3 separate regions of the Homo sapiens genome follow, and regions 1 and 2 are each linked to region 3. The links are contacts of gene promoters, found by promoter capture Hi-C in blood cells and fetal thymus (Javierre and others, 2016). All regions are on one chromosome and are shown on one strand. Each heading gives the region's core, a stretch centred on a gene start or on the middle of the fragment in contact. The rest is flanking DNA. Distances are from core to core; before and after follow the strand shown.

What was found. Contacts are between HindIII fragments. The CHiCAGO score rates a contact against its expected background, and 5 or more counts as called.
Region 1: a contact is called between a fragment that was not itself captured here and the fragment with the promoter of BEAN1 in region 3, in 9 of 17 cell types (activated CD4 T cells, naive B cells, total CD8 T cells and 6 more). The highest score is 10.0, in activated CD4 T cells.
Region 2: a fragment that was not itself captured here is called in contact with the fragment with the promoter of BEAN1 in region 3 in 13 of 17 cell types (naive B cells, activated CD4 T cells, total B cells and 10 more); the score reaches 15.6 in naive B cells.

The regions. Positions count from the first base shown.
Region 1 is chr16:66,744,050-66,747,232 of GRCh38, reverse strand. All of the region lies in intron 3 of DYNC1LI2 (dynein cytoplasmic 1 light intermediate chain 2), which reads left to right. Among named protein-coding and RNA genes, the nearest start is that of DYNC1LI2, 6.0 kb to the left of the region's middle. RefSeq lists a silencer at 421-621. The HindIII fragment of the contact is 6,912 bases long and covers 1-3,183 here.
Region 2 is chr16:66,717,725-66,721,146 of GRCh38, reverse strand. DYNC1LI2 (dynein cytoplasmic 1 light intermediate chain 2) reads left to right here. Exons shown (of 13, transcript NM_006141.3): 13 at 1-254. Among named protein-coding and RNA genes, the nearest start is that of CMTM4, 23 kb to the right of the region's middle. The HindIII fragment of the contact is 6,892 bases long and covers 1-3,422 here.
Region 3 is chr16:66,426,045-66,429,432 of GRCh38, reverse strand. BEAN1 (brain expressed associated with NEDD4 1) reads right to left here and starts at 2,138. Exons shown (of 5, transcript NM_001178020.3): 1 at 2,002-2,138. RefSeq lists an enhancer at 710-1,310. The HindIII fragment of the contact is 13,321 bases long and covers 1-3,388 here.

The sequences.
Region 1 (3,183 bases), core at 544-3,043, 320 kb before region 3:
GTGGCGCACGCCTGTAATCCCAGCTACCCAGGAGGCTGAGGCAGGAGAATCGCTTCAACCTGGGAGGCAGAGGTTGCGGTGACCGAGATTGTGCCACTGCACTCCAGCCTGGGCAACAGAGTGAGACTCTGTCTCAAAAAAAAAAAAAAATGTTGAGGGCATGGGTAAGAGTCTCTTGTGTAAGAAGGACAGAGGCATTTGGGTACTCATCTAGGCCCACTGGAGTCTGTACATACAGGGCTGCTGAGCCTGGCCAGAGGATCTCACATGTATTGAGTCTTTTGCTTCCTTTTTTGGACAGTGTGGTTACTGTGGAAAGAGCTGTGGCTTTGGAGCCAGGCAGAACTCGTTCAGAATGCCATGCCTGTAGTCAGTAGTTGTGTGGCTTTGGGTAACTGACTTAACCACTCTGTACTTGAGTTTCCTCATTTGTAGAATGGGGTAATGGTGCCTATACAAAATGATACAGGGTGTATCAGGTGTAACAGTGCTTGAGACATGGTGATAGCTCTAGTACCCTTTTGTTTCTTTTGAAAGTGTAAAACATGATGTAGGTAATCTGTGAATCTCTATAGCCTCTTCTGTTTCAAGATACCATAAGCATATTTCATGCCAGAGCATCGTGTTGACCACATTTATTTGCCTTTAAGTATATTTTAACTTATATACAGATTTTTTTAAAGTTACCTTAAAAACTTCTTGGTCTCTGCATTTATTGGATTTTTTTAGGCCACCCGCTTGCAAGTTCCTGTTTGATGGAAGAATTGCCCTTATCTGTTGTTAATGGTACATTTTCCAGCCCTAGTCTTTCTTACTGTGTGATGTGATTGAGTTATAAATATACACTTTGCAAGCAGTTACCCAGGTAGAGAAAACAGTCTCTGGCTTGTACCTAGTTTGTGGTAGGATGTGACATGTCAAAGGACCTCTGCCTCCAGGTTTGGGGGCATCTGTTTAATGCTACACGTGGTGTGATCTCCAAGCACATGGGTGAGTTACGTGTAGTGGGCAGTGGGGAGAGAGGCTGAAAAAAGGAACCATGCCTGTGGATGGGTAGGCATTAAAACCCACAGACTTTGGGTACAGAGTAGTATTTTTGAGGACATTCACAGAACCCAAACTAAAGCCGCTAAAATAGAATTTGAAAGTATTGCTAGATTTAGATACTTTATACTGTTGACACAAAGCCATGAATATAAATTTTTTTATAGCATGTTAATTGCTTATACAAAAAAGTTAATAAAAGATAGGTTTTTTTTTAAGTATATTTTTCTAAAAGAGGAAGATTGGGTTTTTTTGTTTGTTTTGTTTTATTTTTTTTCTTTTTTTGAGACAGGGTCTGGCTCTGTCATCCAGGCTGGAGTGCAGTGGCATTATCTCAGCTCCCTGCAACCTCCACCTCCCGAGCTCGAGCAGTCCTCCCTCCTCAGTCTCCCGAGTAGCTGGGACTACAGGTACATGCCACCAAGCCTGGCTAATTTTTGTATCTTTTGTAGAGATGGGGTTTTGCCATGTTGTCCAGGCTGGTCCTGAACTCTTGAGCTCAAGTGATCCACCCGCCTCAGACTCCCAAAGTGCTGGGATTACAGGCGTGAGCCACCAGGCCCTGCTGGTTTTAAAGTATATGTTGGAATTTATTGAAAAAGAAGCTAATAGGCCGGGCGCGGTGGCTCACGCCTGTAATCCCAGCACTTTGTGAGGCTGAGGTGGGCGGACCCCTTGAGCCCAGGAGTTCGGGACCAGCCTGGACAACGTGGTGAAACCCCATTTCTACTAAAAATACAAAAATCAGCCAGTATGGTGGCACACAACTGTAATCCCAGCCACTCAAGAGCCTGAGGCATGAGGATCGCCTGAACCTGGGAGGCGTGGGCTGCAGTGAGCTACGCCAGTCTAGGCACACCCCTACACCACACCACTACACTCCAGTCTAGGCAACAAAGTAAAACTCATCACAAAAAGAAAAAGTATTAATAGTTAATAAAATATTTTTGATGATAGTTCTCAAGGTACTTTTATAAAACATAGTTCTGCCGGGCACGGTGGCTCATGCCTGTAATCCCAACAAGGCTGAGGCGGGCAGATCACCACAGGTCAGGAGTTCGAGACTAGCCCAGCCAACATGGTGAAACCCGGTCTCTACTAAAAATGCAAAAATTAGCTGGGCGTAGTGGTGCACTCCTGTAATCCCAGCTACTCAGAAGCTGAGGCAGGAGAATCGAAGCCTTAGAGTAGGAGATTGCAATGAGTTGAGCTTGCACCACTGCATTCCAACCTGGGTGACAGAGGGAGACTCCATCTCAAAAAATAAAAATAAATAAAAAATAGTTCTCAAAAGATAACTGAAAATTTCTAAAAATACATTATAAATTTGGCCGGGCATGGTGATTCATGCCTATAATCCCAGCACTTTGGGAGGCTGAGGCGGGCAGATCACTTGAGGTCAGGAGTTCGAGACCAGCCTGGCCAACGTGGTGAAACCCCATCTGTACTAAAAATACAAAAATTAGCCAGGCGTAGTGGCACGTGCCTGTAGTCCCAGCTACTTGGGAGGCTGAGGCAGGAAAATCGCTTGAACCTGGGCAGCAGGGAGGGGTGGCGGCGGTTGCGGCGGCAGTTGCAGTGAGCCAATATCGTGCCACTACACTCCAGCCTGGGTGATAGAGTGAGACTCCATCTCAAATAAATGAATAAATTTGGAGAATTGTCTTCGGCAGTTAGATCATCCTGGTATTCATTTGGAACCACGTTTCATTACATCTTAGCACTTGCACATTTGTGTGAATCTATTTTAGTAGAAAACAAAAAATATATACAAAGTAGAGAGTGGTATCATGAACCACAGTGTACTTGTCACCTTGCTTCAACAATTACCAGTTCTGGCTGGGCGCACTGGCTCAGGCCTGTAATCCCAGCACTTTAGAAGGCCGAGGCAGGAGCATTGCTTGAGCCTAGGAGTTTGAGACCAGCTTGGGCAATATCAGGAGACCCTATCTCTACAAAAAACTAAAAAATTAGCTGGGCATGGTGGCTTGTGCCTGTAGTCCCAGCTACTTGGAAGGCTGAAGTGGGTGGATCACTATCCCAGGAAATCGAGACTGCAGTTGCCACTGCACTCCAGCCTGGGTGTCTCAGACGCTGTCTCAAAAATAAATATACAAACATACATAACCAGTTCTTGAT
Region 2 (3,422 bases), core at 666-3,165, 290 kb before region 3:
TGACTGCTCTGTACATCATGACCTTAACAATGTTAATGCTGTAAGTGAAAGTTCACTGTCGTCTGTATACTAAATTTATTGGTGTTTCTAACTTAAAAGTAAGACTGCAGATTATCCCCCACCAGCCTTAGTCCAGGGGTGTGGCTCTGTCCGGGTGCAGTATGCAGTCATGTGGAACCTTGCTTTCTAGTCCTGGGAAAAAAAGATGTCTCTAATTACTGGCTTCAATAAACACGAATCCAGACTGCTTACAAGTTTTGGTGGCTTTCTTTATGGTGAATCATCCCACTGGAGATACATTGAATTTTCTGCTAATCATATGGGGTATCTGATCACATAACTAAAAATGTTTACCTGTCTCACTTGAAATTGTCAGAAATTCTGGAAAGAATAACATTGTAAAGCCATATTTATTTTATCTTATTTTTTAGAGCTGGGGGTTGTCAAGTCTGGTCTTGAACTCCTGGCCTCCAGTGGTTCTCCCGCCTTGGCCTCCCAAAGTGCTGGAGTTATAGGTGTGAGCCACCACACCCAGCCTGGTTTTTTTGGTTTTTAAAAATTACAACCATCCTCATGAGTATGAAGGTGGTGGGTATCTCAGTGACTAACGATGTTAAGGAGCATCTTTTGATGTGTGTATTGGCCATTTATATATCTTTGGAGAAATGTCTATTCAGATTCTTTGCTCATTTTAAAATTAGGTTATTTGCCTTTTGTGTTTTTTGTGTTTGTTTTGAGGGTCTTGCTTGTGTCTCAGCCTCCCAAAGTGCTGGGATTATAGACATGAGTCACTGCACCCAGCCTATTTGACTTTTTATCATTGGGTTGTAAGAGTTATTTATGTATTCTGGATACTATACTCTTAACAGATATAACTCTTTCCTTTTGATATGCTCCCCTTAATCTCTGAGCATTTTCTTACTTTCTGGCACAAAAAGGTGTTCCAGGCTCACCTTGCATTTTCCCTGACTTTGACCTGGAATCAGCCGTTTTTCCAAGGAGTCCTGGTTCCTGGTTTCTTTTTTTCTTTTTCTTTTCTTTTCTTTTTTTTTTTTTTTTTGAGACAGTCTTGCTCTGTTGCCCAGGCTGGAGTGCAATGGTGCAATCTCAGCTCACTGTAACCTCCACCTCCCGAATTCAAGTGATTCTCCTGCCTCAGCCTCCTGAGTAGCTGGGATTACAGGCATGTGCCACCACGCCTGGCTAAGTTTTATATTTTTAGTAGAGACGGGTTTCGCCATGTTGGCCAGGCTGGTCTCGAACTCCCGACCTCAGGTGATCCACCCTCCTCTGCCTCCCAAAGTGCTGGGATTACAGGTGTGAGCCATCGTGCCCGGCTAGAGCCCTGGTTTCTTTTAGTGGGAGATTGGTTTTTGGAAACCAAGATCTGGACGATAGGCATACTTAATTTTACTGAGTGCTATTACTTGTAGGCCTTTTGAGTGGACGCACCATGTCTACTTTTTCACTTAGCATTCCCTGTAAGTTGGTTTATATTAGTTCATGGAGATGTTTATTCTTGTTTATGGCTACATCCTATTCAATTGTATAATGTACCTTGTTTATTCATCCAGTCTCCTGCAGATGGGCATTTAGGATGTTTGCAGTCTTGTATTATTACATCTAATGCTGCAGTGAGTAACCTTCTGCATATCTTGTGTTTTATTTTGGAGATGTGTCTTCAGGGTAAATTCTTAGCAGTGGGCCTACCTACTCAAAAGGTAAATGCGCGTCTGTGGTTGTTAGATATTATCAAAATCCCTTCCATAGAGGTCACACCAGTCTGCGTGCCTGTCAGCACTTGTACAGATTATTAATTCATTGTTACATTTTGTCTTAAAATTAAGTTAGGAAGTTTGGTGAATAAATGTGTTGAGGATTATTTTATTTGATAATACGGGCATTAACATTGTAATAGTAAACGCTTACATTAGAGATTGCTGTATACCAGTCACTTCTATTTTTATTTATTTTATTTTTATTTTATTTTATTTTATTTTTGAGATGCAGTCTCGCTCTGTCGCCCAGGCTGGAGTGCAGTGGCACAATCTCGGCTCGCTGCAACCTCTGCCTCCTGGGTTCAAGCGATTCTCCCTGCCTCAGCCTCCCGAGTAGCTGGGACTAAAGATGCACGCCACTACGCCTGGCTAATTTTTGTATTTTTAGTAGAGACGAGGTTTCACTATATTGGCCAGACTGGTCTGGAACTCCTGACCTCAGGTGATCCGCCCGCCTCCGCCTCCCAGAGTGCTAGGATTACAGGTGTGAACCATGGCGCCCAGCCACCAGTCACTCTTCTAGGTGGTTTATACAAACTGATTTAAACTTCACAACAACTCTGCTGATGTCCATCTTAGTTTCCAGATTGAGGAAATTAAGACATGGATAAGGTAAGTAGCTACTAAGGTCCCAGAATTTGAACCCAGGCAGTCTAGCTTGAGTTTCAGCTAATCATGGTGGTATGCTGATACTCTGTGCTCATTTAAAGCAGTTGGGGGCCTGCACACGGTGGCTTACATCTGTAATCCCAGCACTTTGGGAAGCTGAAGTGGGCAGATCACGAGGTCAGGAGTTCGAGACCAGCCTGGCCAACATGGTAAAACCCCATCTCTACTAAAAATACAAAAATTAGCCAGGCATGGTGGCACAAGCCCGTAGTCCCAGTTACTCAGGAGGCTGAGACAGGAGAATCACTTGAACCTGGGAGGCGGAGGTTTCAGTGAGCCGAGATCGCATCACTGCACTCCAGCCTGGGCGACAGAGTGAGACTGCGTCTCAAAAAAATAAATAATAAAGCAGATGGGGAAAATGTATCAATCGAGAGTGTTTTCATCTGTGGTCGTAAGCAGCTGTGTGCTGCTGTTCAACCTTTTCCCCTTGCCATGATGGATGGAAGAGTCACTCTTGCTAGGTGGAGAGAAATGGCAGATAAAGTACCCAATATCCTCTACAAAGGGAGAAGGGGCTGCAGTCGCAGGTATCTTTCTGGGAAACGCAAATTGAGGTGTCTGCCACTCCTAATCTTGGAATTTCCTTTCTCTTAAGGTATGAAGAGCTTTAGGTGTTGCCTGCGGCAGGAGCCCTTGGCAGGCTCTGAGACAGACTTTCACCAGTGCAAATGTTCCTAGGTGTGCCTGTGAGGCTAGCAGGCTGGCCTGCCTCTAGACCTGCCTTAGGGGCCCTTACACACACCACTAACCTCTCTGGAATTCCTCTTCTGCCACCTCTGGATTGGGAGCAACCCGTGGAGGGAGGCAGTTGGAATGTTGGGGAGGGCATGGGCACTAATGGGTTCCAGTCCTAGTTCATTCTCTGGTGACATTTGAATCAAGCAAGTGCAGTTCAGATGGATGAGAAATTGATCAAGAAGCAAAACAAGAAAACAACCAAAATTGGGGAACTTCACCCCTCTCAGGCCTCCT
Region 3 (3,388 bases), core at 889-3,388:
TCCTCCCCTATCCCCTGGGCCTATGCCCTGCTCTGCTCTGGGTCTAAGGTCCCAGCCACACAGACTGGAGCAAATCCCTTCCTGGGGACACCCTGCTCTGAAGTTTGAACCTCTCAATCACTGGCTCCATTTCCTCCCCGACATCCTTCATTTCTGGTGCCTCATGGCCCAGTTGCCTGGACGAATACATCATAGTCTGCGAAGAATCAAGGCTGGGACCCCTCAGACCTCTAGGCTGTCTCCCTGGTGCTTCTTGCTGCCTGTCTGAACCGTCACCATCGGTGTGTCCAAGCCACCTGACAGCCTGATGGCTCCTCAGGGAAAGCAATCCTCCACCCGGGAGTGGAGGGAGGTGTTAAATTCCCTTGTACGGAGCTCGAGCAATGGGTGGGTGCCCCTCTCTGGGGCAGCGGACATCAGCTAAGGGCAAGGAGGAAAAGGGTGCACCTTACAGTCAGATGCAGCCTTTTCACCCTGGAGAGAGATGGGAGGTAGCAGGGGAGAACTGGGCTGGGCGGTAGAGAGCCTTGGAGGAGGGAGCGTCTGAGAAAGGGTGGGCCCTAAGGAGAAAGTTTTGCTTTGCAATTAAATGTCAACAGCTTGGGGAATTCAAAGGCCTCCTTGGAGGGGGCTGGGAGCACCACTTCAGATTCAGAGGCACTGAATCTCAGCATCTACTGGTGCTGGACACCTCAGGACACCTGTAGCCCACCACAATTGGCCACTGGCTGCGTGCCAGGCACCAGGCTACATACCCTCACCAGCATCATCTCATTTAATCCTCCCAACTCACCTTCCCCATGTTCCAGATGGGGAAACTAAGGCTCAGAGAGGTTTGTGTCTTGCTTAAGGTTGTACAGCCAGGAAGTCAGCCAAGCCCACCTTCTGGTTCCAAATCCCTTAAACATCCCGCTCACAACAGACTCCTGCTTACTTTCAGATGAGGAAACTGAGGCACAGGGTGGTGAAGTCTCTCGTTCCAGCAGAGCAGTTATGTTTGAGGAGTGAGTCCAGAGCGGCATGCTCTCGGCAGGGGCTCATCGGAAATCGTGGCTCAAGAGCAAGGATCCCTGAACCCCTGCCTCTCACACCAGTTACTTGCGCCCTCCCTTTCCCAGCCTGCGCCCCGCCACCCACGCCGGCACCCGCCCGAGATGGACAGGGCAGTCCCTGGTCCTCACCGCTCTCCAGCCTCCAGACCGCAGAGCCCGATAGGGAAGGAGGAAGGGCAGCGAGAGTCAGCCGGGTGTGGGGTGGGCCCTGCCCCTGGGGAGCGGCGGCGGTGCCACTCAGCGCTGCGCAGCCAGCCTGAGCTGCCTGCCGCCTCGCCTCGTACTCAGCCTCGGGTCCCTCTGACAGCGCAAGGGAAAGTCTGTCCCAAAGTGGGAGAAGGTGCGGAGGGCGCGCTCTCTCTCCGACGCTCGGTGCTGAGACAGAGGCACGGAGACAGGGGCATACCCCAGGCGACCTGCTCGTCGAAGGGTCAAACTTCCTAGCTCAAAGGGGTGCGGGTGGGTTCAAACTCCAAACTCCGTGAAGCCCCAGCCCCTTTCCTCTCCCACCCCGACCGAGAGTGCGCCCTAGTTTTCCCTTCTTGGTTGGGTTGTTCAGGGGTCCCCGAAACCGAGGGCAAGCTGCTGGGGAGGCTGTCTTGGGTTCCCCAAATGCGGTTGATGCTCGTCGGGGACTCGAGTCAGGCAGAAAACCTGGATACCTCCCCTTCCCCGAGGCCCGAGGGCGCGATCAGGGTCAGCCTCGGCTCGCGCAGATCCCAGTGGCCAGCCCGGGGTCGAGGGTCCGCGGGAGACCCGGGATCCCGCTCCGTTCCGAGCGCGCTGCGGTTCCGTTCCGGACCGCGCATCCGCCCGCCCCGCGCACCGAGGCTCCGCGCGGCGCGCCCCCGGGTGTGTCGTTCGCCGGTACCACCGCAGAGCGCGGGGGAATGGGGCCGGGACCCCCCGCCCGCCCCTCCCCCGCGCCGCCCAGCCCCACGCCCCTTACTCGGCTTGGCTGCAGCGCTCCGCTCCGTGCGCCGCAGTGCCGGCTCCAGCTTCGGCTCCAGCTCCGGTTCCCGCCCCGGCTCCGGCTCCCAGTCCGGTTCCCGCTCGGAGGCCACTGCGCTCGGGCTCGGGCGTCGCGGGGGGCGCGCCGCTACGCTTCGGCCTGCTGGGCGCGCAGGGGCGGGGCGGGGCGGGCCAGGCGGGGCCAGGCGAGCCGGGCCGACCAGCCGCCCGCGATCCCGGGCCGAGGCAGCGGCGGCGGCGGCTTCCCAGGCCCCGGCCCTGGCCCTGGCCCTGCCCTGCCGCAGCCCCGCCCGGCCGCCCGTCGTCCCCGCGCCGCCGCCCACGCCACCGTCACCGGCCCCGGCCCCCCTCGGCGGCGGCGCGGCTCCCGGGCCTCAGCACCGCGGCGCCGCGGCCCGGGTCACTCCGAGATGCGGGGCGGGGGGCGCGGGTGCGGGGGAGGGCCGAGCCGCGCCCCTTTGCGCACAGCCAGCCCGACACCCACACAGCAGCAGGCGGGGCAGGGCGGCGAGGAGGCCGGGAAATGCGGGAGGCCGACGCTCCAGTCAGACGTGTGAAGAGGACACACAGGCGTGTGTAGGGAATGACACACGGACGCGAGCGGGGAGCCACTGACACGTGCAGAGAAGGGTAGACAAACGAGGTGTCAGGGAAGGACAGCCAGACAGGTTGGACCGAGGCTAGGCTGGGCATTTGAGCAGGGGACCCCTGTCGCGGGCAAAGAGCAAAGTGCGGGATGGAGAGGGGGACCCAGCGTGGCTGGGCCGCTGGCAGGGGCAGGCGAGCCTGGCAGGGCTTCCCGCTCGCGGTTGCTGGCAGGTGAGTTTTGGGATTCCAGCTAGGCCTGGCCCAAACCTTCCTTCGGAGCCACCAGCAGGCCTGTTTCCTTCACCCCGTCACCCTCCCTGTGCCCCCGTTCCCCGCTGCCCAAACGTCAGGGCATAGGGCTCAGCCCTGGCAGGTGGAAGCCGGCCCCGAGGGGATGCCTGGCTCAGGCCGGGGTTCCAGGCTTCCAGGACCTGCTCTGTCCCCACCCTGCTTTGGGGCCTTGGACGAATCCCAGCCCATCTCTCAGGCCTCCCTGTCCTCATTAGGATATTGCTCCCAATGATTGCACCCCTACTGTGTTGGGGTGCTCGCCAGCGTGGAGGAGTTATTTATTTAACCTCCGCCACTTGCCTGGGAGCGCCAGGAGGGCAGCGTCTGGGTAGGGCTGCAGGGGTCTGCACAGAGTGGGCACTCAGTGAATTTGCTGCAGGAATTGATGAAATGTGTTGTTGCTAACACTCTCTGAACCACTACTGTTGATGAGGAAACTGGGGCTTAGGAGGCAAGGGGAGTCAAAAGCTGGGTTCGTTTCAAAA